Regions from separate parts of the Homo sapiens genome. Here region 2 is linked to region 1. Evidence: promoter capture Hi-C in human tissues and cell types (Jung and others, 2019). All regions are on one chromosome and are shown on one strand. The core of a region is centred on a gene start or on the middle of the fragment in contact, and the rest is flanking DNA. Distances in the headings are between cores, read along the strand shown.

Region 1 (5,658 bases), core at 1,812-4,311:
GTGAGGCACTCAAAGGGTCTAAGTGATAACAGAAAAGCAGGAAAATCCCTCCCATGGACCCCATGGCCTAAGACCCCAGCACTCCGCACAAGTTCACAGCTACGCCGCAGCCGCGGCAGACGGCAAGAGGACCACAATCAGGATAAGGCGGCGGCCTCTCAAAGCCCTGAATAAGTCTGTGGCCTTAATAGAGATTTTGAATCAAACATTTATTCTTAGGAGTCAGGCCATTCAAGCAAACTTAGCAGCAACAAGATGAATTTTTCCCCCAGGGGAGGGGACAGATTCAAAGGGTATTTTTTTTTTTAAATCTGCTAGAAAAACCAGTAGAGGGAAGTATCAACCATCACTCAAGGTCACTCATGAGACTTCCAGGTAAAACATGCAAAGCCCAGGGAGAAGCAGCAGCCTGAGTTTTTACAAGAACGGTACTTAGGCAAGAACACGAAGTCCCCAGGACAGGGAACCTACCACGGCAGACGCCGTGACACTGGGTGTGCGGATGGGAAGGGGCAAGGACTTCTAGACCTTTCCTCTCACTTTAACTCAGCAGTGGAGCGGGTGCCTGGGCACCAGTCACGGCAGTGGGAGGAACCGGCTCCAGTTCTCAGGCTGTGGAGCCGTCTAGGCACCGTGCACGAAGTGGGTCTCCAGGGCTCTGAGAGGCCGGGCTAAGACCTCTGATGGAGAACAGAGCACTGGAGCTGCACCGCTGTCCCAGAAACACAGGCCACAGGGACAGAGTGGCCCAATTTCCCTTAATTTAAAAACCCCACGTCAGGGCAGTGTTGGAAAGTTCACTCTGCTAAAATTTAATTCAGTGTTTGTAAATAGTACATCGTCTGACAATAACAACTGTGTACCCCCCACGGCATTTCCTCTAAATCCTTGGAGCAGTTTCACCGTTCACAGGGTTTACCTCCTGACCTCTGTGACCACCAGGGGCTGGGGAGGGACGGAGGACGCAGGGCACTGGGTCAGCCTGGCCCTGGTGGAACTGACCTGGGGGCCCTTAGGTAACAGTCCACCCAACCCGAACATCCGAAACAGGAGTGGAACTCAGGTCTGAGCACAGAACGACTCATCCTCACACAAAACAGCTAAACCCGAACAGAAATCACCTCATCTAAGCAAAAGAAAACTCTCACGTTCAGGATAATGCTGTCAGTGAGAGGCTTAATTAAATGCTTGTCCCCAGGCTGGCCTGAAGGCAAGGCGGAATTTCGGATTTCTAAACACCTCAAAGTGAGTGCATTCCACGCCCCAAGGAGAAATCTGACAGTAACTCCCCAGCCCTCTTCCTTCAGTTACGGAGAAGATGTCTAGCTTTTTAGGGGACACAGTAAGTTCCCACCTAAATTTGCAGTAACTTGTGCCCAAGTACTCCCCTCACTCCTCAGTCCTTTCTGCAGTGGTAACCAGGCTGAGGTGCCCAAAAGTGCCAGTTGGAAACACGTAAAACACACCGAGCAGAAAGGTTCTACTCTGATAAATACTGTCGCTTGCTTCATTATTCATGTGAAAAACCCCTTCTATACATTTCCTTTTGATGAACAAACTATTTTCCACTCTTGTAGAGTGAAATAGTGCCTTGCAGAGGCAGCGTGAGTGCCAGCAGCAGAGATGTATCCAGTCTGTTACCCAAACGGGAAGTTAGCTCTGATAATAGAGCCAATATGAAAGATTCTACAATCGATACAATTAAAATGCCCGTGAGTTCTCGGCGCACAGGTGTCTGCGCCCAGGCCGCGCGCTAAACACGTTTCTAATTAGCATTTCTTTAAACAATGCTGATCACAATCTTGCCACCGTAATCCACTCCAAATGCATCGTTGAGATTGCAGCACGGAAAGCGAGAGAGGAAATTCGCTGCGAATCTCAAACTTTCTTTTGTTTATATTTCTTCGCTGTCAGAAAATATCCGTTCTTCGCCCCATCTGGTCTGTACCCTGGCTCCTCGGTCCAGCCCTATTGTGTGTGCTTCGTTAAACCTACAAACAGTGAATCTGTCAGCGGGGCCAGGGGAACCCCAACTAGCAGGAGCCCTCCCTCTGGCGCAGAGAATTCCCCGTTTGCCTTAGGGATTGAGTTGTCAGACACCGGCTCGCGCTCCCCCGCGAAACTGACATGTCTATTTACAGAGAAACAAAGACGCGGCTCGCAGCGGACCCCGCTTCCTCCGCGCGCCCCGTCCGCCCCGCGCGCCCCGAGCCCTCCGCGCCCCGAGCCGCCCCGCCCCGAGGCCCCTGCGCCCCGGTTCGGCCGGCGATTAAGATGGAGACCAGGCCGGCGCCCGGCGTCCGGGGAGACAATGACCCCCCGGCCTCAGGGCGCCGGGACCCGCCCGCGCCCACCTCCCGCAGTTCCGACTCTTGGCAAACTCGGCGCGGGCGGCTCCGGGTGCGGCTGGGCTGTGCCGGCGGGGGGCGCGGGCGGGGGGCGCCAAGACGCCCCCGGGCTGCCTCGGGGCCAGGCGTTGACGCAGCAGAAATTACCAGCTGGAAAATTCCCCTCTCGGAGGTGCCGGGGAGGGAGCGCGGCGGCGGCGGGAGGTGCCGGGGGCCGAGGGGCCGGGGCAGCCCAGCCGCCTCCGCGCTCAGCCCCGCGGGGAACCCGCGCCGCCCCCGCGCGCCCCGCCCCGCGCCGCCGGCCTGGGGGGCACCCGCGGGGGCCGGGCCGGGGTCTCCGCCGCCGCCCCCGGAGCCCGCGCCGCAGCTGGGAGCGCCGATGGCCCCCGGGAGGGCGCCCCCGCGGGGCGGGGCGTGGCGGGGCGGCCGGCGGCGGGGGCGCGCCCGGGCTCGCAGCGGCCCCGGCTCCCGGCTCCCGGCTCCGGGCCCGGCCCCCGCCGCGATGCGCCCGCCCGGCCGCGCGGACAATGAGCCGGCGCCGCTTACCTGTGACCCCATGGGGCGCGGGCGAGGGCGGGCGCCGCGGCCGCCGGGCCGGCGCCGGTGATCGCCGCCGCCGCCGGGAGGGCGCTGCGTCCGGGCGGGTCCGAGCTGCGCGCTCGCCGGGGCTGCTCGGTCCGTCCGTCCGTCCGTCGGTCCGTCAGGCCGGCGCGCGCCCCCGCGCCCGCTCCAACCCCGCGGCCCCCGCCGCCCGCGCGCGCGCGCCCCGCCCGCGGACCCTGACCCCGCCCCCCGGCGCGCGCCCGGCCGCCGCTGATTGGCCCGCGCCGCGCCCCGGCCGCGGCCACCGCCCCGGGCCCCGCCCACGCCGGCCCGGCCGCCGGCCCCGCCCCTCGCTCGGCTCCCGGCGCCGCGCCGCGGGGTCGCAGGGGGCCGCGCCGGGGGTCCGTTCTCCCCCCCGCGGGCAGCCGGACAGCGGAAGTGCGGGCTGGAGCTCGCTGGGCATTGTGGGAAGCCCCCTCCCCTGGGCTGGCGGGGGGCTGGGGCGGCGCGGCGCGGGGGTCCCCCTGGCCCCCGCTGCGCCCTTGCCCCGCGAGCGCGGAGCAGCCTGGAAACACCCCACGGGAGCGGCGACCCCGGCGAGGGCACCCGCTCCCTTCCCGGGCCGCGCACCGGGCGCTGCCCACGCGCAGGTTCCTCGGGGGCGCGCGGGTGCCCAGGTCACCGGCCGTCCCCGCGCCTGACGCGCGGTTGCACTGCGCGCGTCTCGCAAACTTGGCGACTCCCCCAGCCCGGCCGGGCATCAACGCGGGCCGCTCGCGGTGCGGAAAAGGCGCCCCCAAGGAAGGCCGCCCGGGGTGCGGGGTCTGGAAGGGCCTGGGCACCGCGCGCGCCTACCCTCGGGGGCCTCGGCGCACCCGGAGATCGGCGCACCTCGGGCGCAGGCCTCGTGGGGGTGCCCGCCAGTGGGGCTCGCTTTTGGCTGACTAGGGGCACCGGCGGCCGCGCGTGGGTCCCTCCCGTCGTGTTGTCTGCGGGGGACGAATGGCTCCGGGAGGGGGCGGGAACCAGCGGCCCGGGCCTCGCCCCAGCCCGTGTGCAGCCCCGATCCGAACGGCCTGGGACGCGTCTCCACCACTCGGCGCCCGGACTCTGCGCGTCGCTTCTCGCCTCCGCCGTCCTCAGCCCTCGGGCGGGTAGAGTGGGAAGCGCGGCCCCGCATTCCTGGCCGGCCTGCGCAGGGGTAAAGGCCACCTCGCTTCCTCTCCCCGGGCGCGGCGGGAAGGGAGGTGAGCCTGTGGCCGGCAGCCGCGCGAGGGAGTCGAGCCCGGCCCGGCCAACCAATGGGGAGGCGCCCGGGCCGTCCAGCCTGCCTCCCTGCGGGCCCAGCGCAGCGGATTCCTCGGGAGGTGGGAGGCGGCGGCCCTATGGGTGCTTTCAAATCTGGATGTGTGAGGCGCATTCAGGAGCGGCAGTGGGAGGCGGCTGAGGGCTCTCCATGAGTGAGCAAAGGCGAAGCGAGGTGTGGCTGCCGGGACCAACGCCTGGGACACTCCCTTACTGCCGTCGCGGGCGCCTGGAAATGGCTGTGCGGACACCCCGTTCCCATCCCCTCGCCAAGGTCGCCGGGATGGCACTGCGGCCCAGGAAGCCCCGTCGCCGGCCTACCTCGCGCGGCACCCTCTCGGTGGCACTGCCTGCTCTGGTCTGAAACTGTAGCCCCAGCCTCACCGACCTTCGGGAAGTGGGGGCTGAGCACAACCACCCTGAGAAGAGGCGGCTTCCAGGAGGGTCTGGCGGGTCACGTGCATCCCCCTTGGAGAAAACAGCACTGCCTGCAGGAGCCCCCACCTGCCCACCCAGAGCCCAGTTGTACCCCACGGAGGAAAGGAGGCCTGGGGAGACAGGAGAGCTCGGGCCCACCGAGCCAAAGCAAGGAGGACCAGAGCCCTGATGCCTGCCCCAAGGGCCTCCCGCAGAGCCTGCCCATGCTCTCTTGCGCAAAAGAGAACCCCAGTCTCTCCCAAGATGTCTGGACCTCCCTAGACAGCCTCCAAGGAGAGCAGTGTTGATGGTTTGCCATGTCCGTTGTCCATGCAGGGATGGAGAGCAGCAGCAGCTGCCTGGCGGAACACACAGTGGCACTCAGTCATCGCTTAGGAGGCCTGCCCATAAGAACCAAACCTTGATCTCACCACGACCCAGGCCAACCCCACCTGCCAGGTTAGGGCTGCCTGTCTTGGTAGAAACTTGCTGAGGGCCGGGCGCGGTGTCTCACGCCTGTAATCCCAGCACTTTGGGAGGCCGAGGCAGGCGGATCACGAGGTCAGGAGATCGAGACCATCCTGGCTAACACGGTGAAACCCCGTCTCTACTAAAAATACAAAAAATTAGCCAGGCGTGGTGGCAGGTGCCTGTAGTCCCAGCTACTCGGGAGGCTGAGGCAGGAGAATGGCGTCAACCCGGGAGGTGGAGCTTGCAGTGAGCCAAGTTCGTGCCGCTGCACTCCAGCCTGGGCGACAGAGCAAGACTCTGTCTCAAAAAAGAAAAAAAAAGAAACGTGCTGAGTTCTAGAATGAACGGGGCGGATGAGGCTCTGGGCCCCCTCTCACCTGGGAGCCCCACTCCTCCCCGCTTCCCCCTCGGCAACACTGCCAGTGACGGGACAGAGACTCCTGACTTTTCTGCTCCAAGAACCAACAGAAGGTCAAGCAGCCTGGAGACGAAGACAGTATGTCAAAAAGGAAGAACCAAGACCGGTCTCAGAGACAGCGCCCTGATTAAGTCCTACAGACCGTTATTCCAAGAG
Region 2 (5,857 bases), core at 2,524-5,023, 110 kb before region 1:
CTTTTGTTTTCCTTTAGTTCATTATCCATGGTTTCCTTTATTTTTAAATTTCTTTTTATTTAGTTATTAATTTTTTTTTTTTTTGAAGCGGGGTTTCACTCTTGTCACCCAGGCTGGCAGGCAATGTCACAATCTTGGCTCACTACAACCTCCGCCTCCTGGGTTCAAGTGATTCTCCTGCCTCAGCCTCCCAAGTAGCTGGGATTATAGGCATGTGCCACCACACCCACCTAATTTTTGGTATTTTTAGTAGAAACTGGGTTTCACCACATTGGCCAGACTGGTCTTAAACTACTAACCTCAGGTGATCTGTCCGCCTCAGCCTCCCAAAATGCTGGGATTACAGATGTGAGCCACTGTGCCCAGCCTCTTTTTTTAGTGTATTTAAGGTAATTGATTGAAAGTTTTTGTCTAGTCATTCAAATGTCTAGGCTTCCTCAGGAACAGTTTCTATTAATTTCTTTATTTTTAAAAAATTTTTTTTAATTTTCTTTTTTTTTTAGATGGAGTCTCACTCTATAGCCTAGGCTGGAGTGCAATGGCTTGATCTTGGCTCACTGCAACCTCTGCCTCCTGGGTTCAAGCGATTCTCCTGCTTCAGCCTCCTGAGTAGCTGGGACTATAGGTGCGTGCCACCACTCCTGGCTAATTTTTTGTATTTTCAGTAGAGACATGGTTTTGCCGTGTTAGCCAGGATGGTCTCGATCTCGTGACCTCATGATCCTCCTGCCTCGGCCTCCCAAAGTGCTGGAATTACAGGTGTGAGCCACCGCGCCCAGCCTATTTTTTATTTTTTGAGACAAAGTCTCCCTCTCTCACCCAGGCTGTAGTGCAGTGGCACAACCCTGGCACACTGCAGCCTTAACCGTCCAGGCTTAAGTGAGTCTCCCACCTTAGTCTCCTGAGTAGCTAGAACTACAAGCATGTGCCACCATGCCTGGCTGGTTGTGTTGTTACTGTTTTAGACACAGGGTCTTGCTACATTTCTCTGACTGGTCTTGAACTCCTGGGCTCAAGCAGTCATCCCACCTTGGCCTCCCAAGGTGTTGAGATTACAGGTGTGAGCCACCGCACCCGGCCTGTTAATTTCTTTATTTCCGGTGAATGGGCCACACTTTCTTGTTTCTTTGCATGCCTTGTAATTTTTTGTTGAAACCTGCACAATTTGAAGATGATAATGTGGTTACTTTGAAAATCAGATCCTCCGCCCTCTGCAGGGTTCATTGTTGCTGTTTGTTGTGGATTGTCGTTTCTCGTTTGTTTAGTTACTTTCCTGACCTTTTTAAATAAAGATTATATTCTGTCAGGGGTGCTTGTTTCTGTTCTTTTAGGTTAGTGGTTAGCTTGTGCTTTGAAAGAGATTTCTTTAAATATCTAGTGGCAAAAAGGATAAAGAGGCCGGGCGCAGTGGCTCACGCCTGTAATGCTAGGACTTTGGGAAGTGGAGGCGGGTGGATCACTTGAGGTCAGGAGTTTAAGATCAGCCTGGCCAGTATGGTGAAACCCTGTCTCTACTAAAAATACAAAAATTAACCGGGCATGGTGGCACCTGCCTGTAGTCCCAGCTACTGGGAAGACTGAGGCAGGAGAATCGCTTCAACCCAGGGGGCGGAGGTTGCAGTGAGCTGAGATTGCGCCATTGCACTCCAGCCTGGGCAACAGAGCGAGACTCTGTCTCAAATAAAAAAAAAAAAAAAAAGGATAAAGAGTGTCTTCCATCCTTTCCAGGTTGCCTCTGTACTGGGGCAAGTCCTTCAGTGTCCGCCAGGCTGTTCACGGCTTTTCCTCAGCCTTTACTTCTTGCTCCCATGGAGCCTAAGGATGAACCAGAGGTGAAAGTTGAGGGCCTCCTCAGGTGTTTCTGAGCCCCTGTCTAGCCCCAGCTGTGTGCATGGCCTTCTGGATTTCCAAGCATGAACAGGAGCTTTCCAAAGCCCTTAGACCTTCATGTAGCTCTTTTCCCAGCCTCTTCCTTCCTAGGCTTTTCTGTCAGCTCTTTGCCCATCTGTTGTTGTCCCTCCCCCACAACTTCAGGTAGTATCTACCTGTAAATGCCTTCAGGCCAGGCGCGGTGGCTCATACCTGTTATCCCAGCACTTTGGGAGGCCGAGGCGGGTGAATTGCTTGAGGTCAGGAGTTCGAGACCAGCCTGGCCAACATGGTGAAGCCCCGTCTCTAGTAAAAATACAAAAATTAGCTGGGCGTGGTGGGTGCCTGTAATCTCAGCTACTCGGGAGGCTGAAGCAGGAGAATTGCTTGAGCCTGGGAGGCGGAGGTTGCAGTGAGCTGAGATCGTGCCATTGCACTCCAGCCTGGGCGACAGAGTGAGACTCCATCTCGGGGAAAAAAAAAAAAAAAAAATGCCATCAACAGCACGACCCTGGAGGCTGCCCCAGCCCTGAGAGAGTTCGAGGGGGTGAAACAAAGGCAAGCCCTTCAGGGAGACACTAGAAAGATCCAAATGCATAAGCAGGATTCCTTGAGAAAAGGTCTGTATCATCCCTTCTGACACCAGCAAGCCACATCAGAAATACAGGTTGCCTTCCCCATGGCTACATGTGAGCTGGTAGTAGTGGCTGAGCAGAAATAGCCCAGCTGTCCTCCTGAAATTTAGCAGGGTCTTACTTCATTGAGCAGTCATCTGGTTCGTAGACACCAGAGTTACAGAAAAGTTTATTGGGAGGTTTTGACAGTTTAATAGAAAAAAGTTTATTGTGACAGTTTTGACAGCTGAATAGAAAAAAGTTTATTGTGACAGTTTTGACAGCAGAATAGTTGCTTTGCTGGAGAGACGGATCTTTGGAGCTGCCAACTCCATCATTTTGGTGATATCCAGCTCTGTTGCTGAATTTTTAGCTATGCTGTTTTAAGTTATTTTCTTAGTGGTTGCTCTAGAGATGACAATGTACATCTTTAACTTACCACAATGTACTTCAGATTATTACTAACTTAACACTTAAAGTACAGCATTTTTTTTTTTATGGAGTTTCACTCTGTCACCCAGGCTGGAGTGCAATGGTGTGATCTCGGCTCACTGCAACCTCCGCCTCCCAGGTTCACGCCATTCTCCTGCCTCAGCCTCCTGAGTAGCTGGGACTACAGGCACCCCCACCACACCCGGCTAATTTTGTATTTTTAGTAGAGATGAGGTTTCACCATGTTGGTCAGGCTGGTCTCGAACTGCTGACCTCAGGTGATCCGCCCATCTTGGCCTCCCAAAGTGCTGGGATTACAGGTGTGAGCGACTGCACTGAGCCTAAGTATGGCAACGTGTCTATAACATAGATCTACTTCCGTTGTACTATGACATAGTTCCCCCTCCATTTTCCTATAGCACAGTCCCAACCTCCCTTTTCCTCTGACATAGTTCCATCCTCCCTCCTCCTATGACGTCCTCCCTTCTCCTCTGGCATAGCTCCATCCTCCCTTCTCCTATGACACAGCTCCATCCTCCCTTCTCCTCTGACATAGCTCCATCCTCCCTTCTCCTATGACACAGCTCCATCCTCCCTTCTCCTCTGACATAGCTCCATCCTCCCTTCTCCTGTGTCATAGCTCCATCCTCCCTTCTCCTCTGACACAGCTCCATCCTCCCTTCTCCTCTGGCATAGCTCCATCCTCCCTTCTCCTATGACACAGCTCCATCCTCCCTTCTCCTATGACACAGCTCCATCCTCCCTTCTCCTATGACACAGCTCCATCCTCCCTTCTCCTATGACACAGCTCCATCCTCCCTTCTCCTATGACACAGCTCCATCCTCCCTTCTCCTCTGGCATAGCTCCATCCTCCCTTCTCCTCTGACATAGCTCCATCCTCCCTTCTCCTCTGACATAGCTCCATCCTCCCTTCTCCTCTGACATAGCTCCATCCTCCCTTCTCCTCTGACATAGCTCCATCCTCCCTTCTCCTCTGACATAGCTCCATCCTCCCTTCTCCTCTGACATAGTTCCATCCTCCCTTGTCCTCTGACATAGCTCCATCCTCCCTTCTCCTCTGACATAGCTCCATCCCCTCTTCTCCTTCATGTATTATTGCCATATATACATTTATGTATGTTATAACTTCAGCTCTTCAGCGTTATAATTATTGCTTCAAAAGTATTTTGAAAGAAGTTGCCTGGAGGCAGTGGCTTATGCCTTTAACTCCAGCACTTTTGGGGGCTGAGGTGGGCAGATCGCCTGAGCCAGGGAGTTGGAGACCAGCCTGGGCAACATGACGAAACCCATCTCCACCAAAATTACAAAAAATTAGTCTGGCATGGTGGCACGCGCCTGTAGTCCCAGCTATTTGGGGGAGGATCCCAGCTAAGGTGGGAGGATCACTTGAGCCTGGGAAGTCAAGGCTGCAGTGAGCTGAGATTGTGCCACTGCACTCCAGCCTGGGTGCAGATCTTATCTCAGAAGTAAAGGGACTAGGAATGGTGGCTTTTATCTCTAATCCCAGCACTTTGGGAGGCTGAGGTGAGTGGATCACCGGAGGTCAGGAGTTTAAGACCAGCCTGGCCAACATGGTGAAACCCCGTCTCTACTAAAAATACAAAAAGTAGCCGGGTGTGGTGGTGGGTGTCTGTAATCCCAGCTACTCGGGAGGCTGAGGCAAGAGAATCGCTTGAACCTGGGAAGCGGAGGTTGCAGTGAGCAAGATCGCACCACTGCATTACAGCCTAGATGACAGAGCGAGACTCTGCCTAAAAAAAAAAAAAAAAAGAAAAGAAAAGAAATTAAGATCTGGACACTGTGGTTCATGCCTGTAATCCCAAAGCCTTGGGAGGCCAAGGCAGGAGGATCACTTGAGGCCAGGAGTTCAACACCAGCCTGGGCAACATAGCGAGACTCCATCTCTATTTAAAAAAGAAAGAAATTCAAAGAGAAAAAAAGTATACTTGTTTTTTTGTATCATCCATATTTTACCTTTCTTTTTTTTGCCCCTTTTTCTTTCCTGTGAATTTGAGTTACTGTCTAGTGTCATTTCCTTTTAGTCTGAAGAACTTCATTTAGAATTTTTTTTTTTTTTTTTTGAGACAAAGTCTCACTGTGTTGCCCAGGCTGGAGTGCAATGGTGCAGTCTCAGATCACTGCAACCTCTGCCTCCCTGGTTAGAGTGATTTTCCTGCCTCAGCCTCCCAAGTAGCTGAGACTGCAGGCACCTGCCACCACCCCCAGCCAATTTTTTTGGTATTTTTAGTAGAGACAGGGTTTCACTATGTTGGCCAGGCTGGTCTCGAATTCATGACCTCATGATCTGCCTGTCCTGGCCTCCCAAAATGCTGGGATTACCATGAGCCACCACGCCCAGCCCATTTAGAATTTCTTTTTTTTTTTTTTTTTGAGATGGGGTCTCGCTCTTGTTTCCCAGGCTGGAGTGCAGTGGCACGATCTCGGCTCACTGCGAGCTCCGCCTCCCGGGTTCACGCCATTCTCCTGCCTCAGCCTCCCGAGTAGCTGGGATTACAGGCGCCTGCCACCACGCCCACCTAATTTTTTGTATTTTTAGGAGAGATGGGGTTTCACCGTGTTAGCCAGGATGGTCTTGATCTCCTGACCTCGTGATCCGCCCGCCTTGGCCTCCCAAAGTGCTGGGATTACAGGCGTGAGCCACCGCGCCCGGCTAGAATTTCTTGTAGGACAGGCTTGCTAGCAACCAATTCAGTGTTTATTTGGGAATGTCTTTATTTCAGCTTCATTTTTTGAAGGATAGTTTAGCTGGCTATAGAATTATTAATTGATCATTCTTTTCAGTGTTTAAAAGTGTCATCATGCTACCTTCTGGGTTCCATTGTTTCTGATGAGAAGTCATCTGTCAAATTGTCCCTTTGTACTTGAAGAATTATCTTTTTTTCTCTTGATGTTTTCAAGA

The links. The method cuts DNA at HindIII sites, captures the fragments that hold promoters and counts their contacts. A contact is called where the count stands out against the background at its distance.
Region 2: a fragment that was not itself captured here is called in contact with the fragment with the promoter of ZBTB46 in region 1 in 7 of the 25 tissues and cell types used here (dorsolateral prefrontal cortex, heart left ventricle, liver and 4 more).

What each region holds. Positions count from the first base shown.
Region 1 is chr20:63,828,203-63,833,860 of GRCh38, forward strand. It overlaps ZBTB46 (zinc finger and BTB domain containing 46), which reads right to left and starts at 3,062. Exons shown (of 5, transcript NM_001369741.1): 1 at 2,895-3,062. RefSeq lists an enhancer at 806-1,497 and a silencer at 3,080-3,219. The HindIII fragment of the contact is 9,346 bases long and covers 1-5,035 here.
Region 2 is chr20:63,719,674-63,725,530 of GRCh38, forward strand. All of the region lies in intron 2 of ZGPAT (zinc finger CCCH-type and G-patch domain containing), which reads left to right. Among named protein-coding and RNA genes, the nearest start is that of LIME1, 14 kb to the right of the region's middle. The HindIII fragment of the contact is 9,604 bases long and covers 1-5,857 here.